Linked DNA regions of Homo sapiens: region 2 is linked to region 1. Evidence: promoter capture Hi-C in 16 types of primary human blood cells and fetal thymus (Javierre and others, 2016). All regions are on one chromosome and are shown on one strand. Each heading gives the region's core, a stretch centred on a gene start or on the middle of the fragment in contact. The rest is flanking DNA. Distances are from core to core; before and after follow the strand shown.

What was found. The method cuts DNA at HindIII sites, captures the fragments that hold promoters and counts their contacts. A CHiCAGO score of 5 or more calls a contact.
Region 2: a contact is called between the fragment with the promoter of WIPF2 here and the fragment with the promoter of CCR7 in region 1, in 1 of 17 cell types (neutrophils). The highest score is 5.4, in neutrophils.

What each region holds. Positions count from the first base shown.
Region 1 is chr17:40,563,662-40,567,442 of GRCh38, forward strand. CCR7 (C-C motif chemokine receptor 7) reads right to left here and starts at 1,811. Exons shown (of 3, transcript NM_001838.4): 1 at 1,739-1,811. The coding sequence starts at 1,748. RefSeq lists an enhancer at 450-1,366. The HindIII fragment of the contact is 7,070 bases long and covers 1-3,781 here.
Region 2 is chr17:40,217,653-40,221,433 of GRCh38, forward strand. WIPF2 (WAS/WASL interacting protein family member 2) reads left to right here and starts at 1,652. Exons shown (of 8, transcript NM_133264.5): 1 at 1,652-1,840. RefSeq lists enhancers at 993-1,042, 1,483-1,592, 1,493-2,271. The HindIII fragment of the contact is 14,072 bases long and covers 1-3,781 here.

The DNA of each region.
Region 1 (3,781 bases), core at 561-3,060:
TTCCCCTCCTACCAGTATTTCGGGTTTGACCGTTGGGGCTCTCTCAAGTTGAGTGAAGTGGCAAGAATATCCCTTCTTCCTGGACCAGAGATTACCCTCTCTCCCTGCATCAAAGCCTAGGAGTCTAGCACCCCTAAACCTAGTCTGGGGTAAGACACTCTGCACATCTTCCCAACCCCCTGTTCAGTCATGTAGATGGCTTGAAATCAATCAGCCAGGGTGGGAGAATTTACACCATGGAAATTGGCAAGCACTACAAATTCAGGACTTTCCCTCCACCCTGGAGTCAGCTACCAGTGCTCCACCCCGGGGAGCTGCTTTTCAAATGCCCAGTAGCACACCACTGGGCACTGCTTGGTTTCCTTCCTGGAGGCCAGTATGAAAGGCTGGAGCAGGGTCTTCTGTGGGTGACGTCTGTACTGTGGGATTGTGATGGGGGGTGGTGGAGGGGGTGCAGGGGAGTGGGATTTAAGGGTAGATTGGCTGGGAAATGAGGCATTTGGAAGAGATTTTCAAAAACTAAACTCTACGGAGTTCTTGATACGGTGTATTCATTCATTCCGCAGACATTTTCTCCTCACATCCTCAAAGCACCTGAACCTGCCTTTCAGGAGTTCACAGTCAGTGGGTGGGGTGACCACTTTAACCCTTTCACAGCTGTTTGCTGGGTCCAGATCCAGCGTTCAGGGCAGGCGGGAAAGTAAGAGATGAAATCAAGGAGGCTGTGGTGTGGCGAGGAGGGGTGTGAGGACAGCACCAGGGAACCTTCACTTTTTAAAGCCAACCCTTTGCGGCTTTGAGGCCGCCGTGGTGCATTGTTTGCTGGTGAGACAAGCCATCTAGGAACCTGGTCTTCTTAGCCTCAGCCTGGTCTGACTCCACAGCTGAGATTTATAAAGGGGGCGTCTGGAGCTGGATGAACCACTCAGAACACCCTCAGTGCTTCCCCTTGACCCCTTCTAGGTTAGACCTGAGAAAGGGCTTTCTAAAGAGTAGAGTTATCTGCCGGGGCAGAGTGCGTGAGGTTTGCTCAGGGGCAGGGGCTGTGCTGAAGGCCTGGCTATGATTTCTCCAAGCTGAGTGCCCCTTGCCATCCCATTCCATGTTGCCTGCCCGTTCCTTAACTTGCAAGAGGCAACAGCAAAGCCAGATCAAAGCAGGTGGGATGTGCAGCAGAGAGAAAGCAACCAGAGCTTGCATTTGCAATGCACCGCACCATTCTCACAACCCAGTCACGTTTCATTTGCATCTCCTCATGACCCCAAGTGGACAGGTATATGAATATTTGGCAGGGGAGAAAGGTGGGAATCAGAGAGTGGGTAAAAGGTCCTAAGCTCTCTAGGGAGAATTTCTCTGTTGAAACCTGTCCCCAGAGGTCCCAGAGGGCCTAACCTATCACCCTCATGATGAGAACAGGTTCTGCCAGACCACCAAGCCCAGCCCCGCCACTCTCTTATGTCCCTGCTGTTTTAGAAAGACATGATCTCGGCCCCTCCCTTGTCCCCACTGGCACCAAAGGCTGACCCCTTCTCCAGGTCTGAAAGGGCAGGTGCACCCCTCCTGGGACAGCAGGGGGCATTCTCTGGAAGTAGCTTCCAATGCCCACCAAATCAGAACTGATTTCTCCAGGAAGCACCCCTATGCGCTCCACCCGCATCCTCCACCCCCATTCCACAGGGTCAGTCTGGGTGTCCAAGACCCTGGTACTGTTCCTTCTCACATGAAGAGGCTCACTCACCCAGGTCCATGACGCTCTCTGGGCGGTAAAACCACACAGGAAGGCTGTGCCCGGCCTCGCACTACCCCTGTCTGGGGAGGAAGTGGTTCAAGCCCCTTTTAAGTTGTCGGAGAAGCCACCCTCTTCCCTGCCCCTCCCACCCTTGCTCCTCCCCCCAGCCCTCCCTGACTCATGCAGGGCCCCTTCAATGCCTTCAGAGATAAAGGGGCAGAAGAAAGGTGACAGAGGGTGACAGTCGCTGGTCATAGGATCCTGAATCATTAGGTCATTTACATTCAAAAAGCCCCCTGCGCTGCCTGGCAGAATCTAGATGAGGGGCCATTTACTGATTCAACAAATATTTATAGCATGAATATCACATGCCAGGCCATGGGTTAGATGTTGGGGAGTCAGAGATGTGTGAGAGAAGTGTCCCCATCCTTCCCTTGCTCTGCTCAGTGTCACAGTGGAATATAGTCCCAAATGGCTTTCCCTCTGGCTTCTGGGTAGTTTAGGCCAATGGGAGGCACTGACACATAATGACAGGTAAAAGGGAAGAGATATGCCACGATGTATCTTTTTTCTCCCCCCTTCCCCTCCCCTCCCCTCCCTCCCCTTTCCCTCTTCTCCCCTCCCTTCCTTTTCCTTTCTTAATGACAGCTTTATTGAGCTATAATCCACATCCCATAAAATTTACCTTTTTAAAGTATAGAATTCAATGGTTTTTGTATGTTCACAGAGTTATGCAACCATCACCACAATACATTTTAGAACATTTTTTCTCACTCCCTCTCAAGAACCCTGTAATCACTAGCAATGACTGCTCCCCTCCCCTCCTGTCATCGAAAGCCCCTGGCAACCACAAATCTACTTTCTGGCTCTATAGATTTTCCTATTCTGAACATTTCACATAAATAGAAGTATCAATATGTGACCTTCACATCTGGCTTCTTTCAGTTAGTGTTTTCAAGGTTACCTATGTGGTGGTATGGATCCATTCCCCATTCCTTTTTATGGCTGAATAACATTCCATTGTATGGATATGCCACATTTTGTTTGTCTGTCATCAGTTGGATGTTTGGGCTGTTTTCCCTTTTAGCTATTATGAATGATGCTGCTATAAATATTTATGTGCAAGTGTTTGTGTGGACATATGCTTTATTTCTCTTGGGTATATACCTAGAAGTGAAATTGTTGAGTCATATGGTAATTATATATTTAACATTTTGACGAACTATCAAACTGTTTTCCAAAGTGACTACACCATTTTGTTCCCATCAACAATGCGTGAGGGTTCCACATTGTCAACAAAACTTACTATTGTCCATTCTTTTGATTCTAGCCATCCTAGTGGCTGTAAAGTGGTATCTCATTGTGTTTTTTTTCTTTTTTCTTTTTTTTTTTTGGAGATGGAGTCTTACTCTGTTGCACAGGCTGGAGTGCAGTGGCACGATCTTGGCTTACTGCAGTCTCCACCTCCTGGGTTCAAGTGATTCTCCTGCCTCAGCCTCCCAAGTAGCTGGGACTACAGGCACGTGCCACCATGCCTGGCTAATTTTTGTATTTTTAGTAGAAACGGGGTTTCACCATGTTGGCCAAGCTGGTCTCAAACTCCTAACCTAAGGTGATCTGCCAGCCTCGGCCTCCCAAAGTGCTGGGATTGCAGGCATGAGCCACCATGCCCGGCCTCTTTGTAGTTTTGATATGCGTTTTCCTAATGACTACCTATGCTGAGCATCTTTTCATGCTCTTATTGACCATTTGTATTATTTTTTGAGAAATTTCTATTCAAATCCTTTGCCCATTTAAAAAATTGGGTTATTTATTTTTTATTATTGAGTTGTAAGACTTCTTTATATATTCTGGTTACAATCCCTTATCTGATACATATCTGTAAATATTTTCTCCCTTACTATGGATCATCTTTTCACTTTCTTGATAGCGTCCTTTGAAGCACAAAGGCTTTTTGTTTTTTAAAACCTGAATCTCTGGCAAAAGAAGCGCAAAGTTTTAAATGTGGAGGTTCAATTGATTTATTTTTCTTTTGTCAATTGTGTCTTTGGT
Region 2 (3,781 bases), core at 402-2,901, 350 kb before region 1:
ATCACAGAGTGTGTGATAGAGCATGGGGCTTTACATTAGCTACAGTGGGCAGTGAATGCCCTCTGAGGACGAAGCATTTGCAGTAAGGCTTGAAAAATGAGGAAGAGGCGGAGGATAGCCAGTACACAGTCCCTGAGGTGGGAACTGCTGAATGGGGTACATTGCAGTGATAGAAATCAGGTCCTCATAATGTAGAGTGAGTGAGGAGGGGACAGGCAGGGGATGAGGTTGAAGAGTTGGGAGGCTCTGGTAAGGTGTTTGGACCCACCATCTCCCTGGCTCCATCGCCCCACGTATGGCCATGCAGGATGTAGACAGCTGAAAATCTTTACCTCGTGTCCTTGATCCCTATGCCTGCTGTGTTCCCTGCCTTCTCTGATTAATAATAAAATTCCATTCATCCTTCAAGGCCCAGCTCCAAACCATTTAGGAAACCTCCTTCCATTCTTTAGCAGGAATTAATTGCTCCCTTGTCTGACGTCCCACAGCACTAATCACACGCTGACTTGTATCTCAGCTAGCTGTTTATGCCAGTCTGCCCACCAACGTAGTGAGTTCCCTGAGGGCAGAGGCTCTGTCTTAGTCACCTCTGTAGCCATCTCCTGGTGTTTAGCAGGTACTCAATGTGACATTTACTTGACTAGTGGGTGGTGCCTAGTACTACTCATGGCAGAATAGAAGGAAAACAAAAATAATAACAACTTATGCTCTATCACGTTTTCCCATTCATTAACTGATTTCAGCTTTGCAACAACTCTATGAGACAGACGGGACAGGCACTATTAGACCCATTTTACAGATAGGGTAGCTAAGGCCCAATGGCACACAGCTTGTAAGTAATGGGGACTAAGTCCCAATCTTGCCCCCTTACTTCGGATTCTGTGCTGGGAATGGAATTAAACCAAGAGTATTTTGAAGCTATAATGGAAAGCGCTTTTCTGGGTGGACTAGGGAGAGATACTTAGTCAGCTGTCAGGGTTTAACAGCAGCTCCATCAAAGAGGGCACAGGATTTCTCTCTCTGGCCCAAGCAGCTGGAGGGGTCCACAGCACCATCCTATAGCCCTGGAAGCTGGAGGAAACCCCAGCCCGAGAAAGAAGAGACGGTGTTCGAGTCAGGTGGGTAAGATGACGTAAATGATGACTTGTGAGCAGTGGCCTGCCTCTGTTGCCATGACAACCGGAGCTTGACTACTTGGCCTTTGCAAGGTTGGCCGAGGCGGGTTCTTCGTTAACTCGAGATTAAGGAAGGATATTTAGGGGGGAGGGTGTGTGTGTGTGCGGCGGATTAAAGACGAAAGGAGTATATTCAACAATGACTGTTTAGCTCAGTGGTTCTCCACCTTGGCAACACGTTAGAATCACCTGCAACAATTTCCTGATGCCTAGGCTGCACCCCAGAATTAAATTATAATTTCCAGGGGTGGGAACCAGGCATCATAGTATTTAAATCTTGCCAGGTGATTCCAATTGCAGCTAAAGTTGCAAACCCAGCTTTTAGCTGGTAAGCGGAATTCCTGTGACCTTCCTAAGATGGCGTCCACTCAACCGCTTCCGCCTTTACGTGGGCCGGCAGGGGGCGGGCTTCCCAGGGGCGCATGCGTCTCGCATCTCTCCGCTCCCTGCTCTCTCCTCCTTTTTCCCCCGCCTCCATTTTGTTCGCGGACGCTGGGGACGGTGGGAGCAGATCCATTTCCGGGTTGGCAAAAGGGGCGGTGGCGGCGGCGGCGGCGGCGGCGGCGGCGGCGACGGCGAGAAAGAGCTTGCCGGGGGGCGAGCAGGACAGGACGAAGCCGGAGTGTAGGCGGCAGAGGATTCGCTCCCAGAGCAGCTGCGGCCAGGTCGGAAAGAGGCCGGGGCGGCTGGGTCAGTCGCTGAAATGACCTGCGGACCTGAGTGGGAGGGAAAGTCGCGGGGAGGGGGGCTCGGGGCGGGGCTTGAGAAGAGAGGGGGGCATTAGAGGAGGGGCCGGAGGGGGAGAGGGGTCTTGCGGGTGGGGCCTGAGGGGCGGGGGGCCGGGGGACTGTATCGGAAGAACCTGGAGGAGAGAGGGCGTGGGGAATCTGGGGAGGAGTGGTCGAATATTGGTATGGGGCGAGCGGGGACTGGAAAAATGGGGAGGAACGTTTTTGAGAGACAGGCAATAAGGGCTCCTGAAGGGTTGGGTGAGTTAAGGCGGCAACTCTGTGAGGAACGAGGTAATCGTGCGCAAAAAGGGAGACGGGAACGGAGGACCTGTTGGGAACGGCTAATTAGCAGGATGCTGTGGGTGAGGAGTCCAGTGTGACATTTTGGGGATTGAGTTAGGTGAAAGCTAGTGTTTGGGAAGATGGCTCGGGAAACTGCTTACACTAGAGGGAATCTTGAGAGCGTTCTTTGAAAAGGAATCAGAATTTAGTTAAAGGTTGGATTGAGAATGTTAAGATGCGCATTGGAACGTCTGGAGTTGAGGGTTCATGTTGAAGTGGTGTGAAGTGAGGGAAGATGGAATTTTTTTTTTTTTGTTTTAAAGGTGGGGTCTGGCTATGTTGCTCAGACTAGTCTTGAACTCCTGGGCTCAAGCGATCTTCCCACCTTGGACTCCCAGAGTGCTGGGATTACAGGTGTGAGCCACTGCACCCGGCCAAGATGGAAATGTTAAAGTGTTCAGCATGGCAGTGTGTATGGTCGAGTTTTTTATCAGGAAGGAAAGTTCTTAAAAATAGCATTGAGGCAAGGAACTGATATGTGATGGAATTCTTTTTTCTTTTTTTTTCTTTTAAGAGACGTGGTCTCACTCTGTCGCCCGGGCTGGAGTGCAGTGGCATGATCATGGCTCCTTAAAGCCTCGACCTCCCGGGCTGAAGTGGTCCTTCCACCTAAGCCCCGCCAATAGCTGGGACCACAGGTGTGACCACTACTCCCGCCTAACGTGTGTGTGTGTATATATATATATATATATATATATATATATATATATATATATATGTATATATATATATTTTTTTGTTGTTGTTGTTGGAGACAGAGTCTTGCCCTGTTGTCCAGGCTAGTCTGGAATTCCTGGGCTCAAGTGATCCTCCTGTCTCGGCCTCCGCAAGTGCTGGGATTACAGGGATGAGCCACTGTGCCTGGCCCAGAATTCGTTTTTTTTTTTTTTTTGAGATGGAGTCTCGCTCAGTGGCCTAGGCTGGAGTGTAGCGGTGCGATCTCGGCTCACTGCAAGCTCCGCCTCCCGGGTTCACGCCCATTCTTCTGCCTCAGCCTCCCGAGTAGCTGGGACTATAGGTGCCCACCACCACACCTGGCTAATTTTTTTTTGAATTTTTAGTAGAGACGGGGTTTCACTGTGTTAGCCAGGATGGATGGTCTGGATCTCCTGACCTCGTGATCCGCCCGCCTCTGCCTCCCAGAGTTCTGGGATTAGAGGCGTGAGCCCCTGCGCCTGTCCAGAATTCATATTTTTTAAAGGACTTGAATAATCTGTTATTGCTTTGGGCTCTCCCAGGGTCCCCGTCCTTTTTCATGCTGTTATTTTTGCCTTACGGTTTTGGTTTTTGACTGTCTTACTGAATGTTTTTGGCTATTCTGTTCTCCTTTTACAAATCAGAAGAGAACCACAGGGAATAAGGACAGTTTTAGCCTACCTATGGATTTAGTAAATAACTTCAAGGCAAATTATTAAGCTCTCATTTTTTTCCCCTTTGAAATATAGGTTTTCTCTGTCCCTGCCTCTAAAAGTTTGTCTTAACACATGGGATCTTTAAAGTGGTTGCATAGAAGTGATCTCTGAAAATGAGATT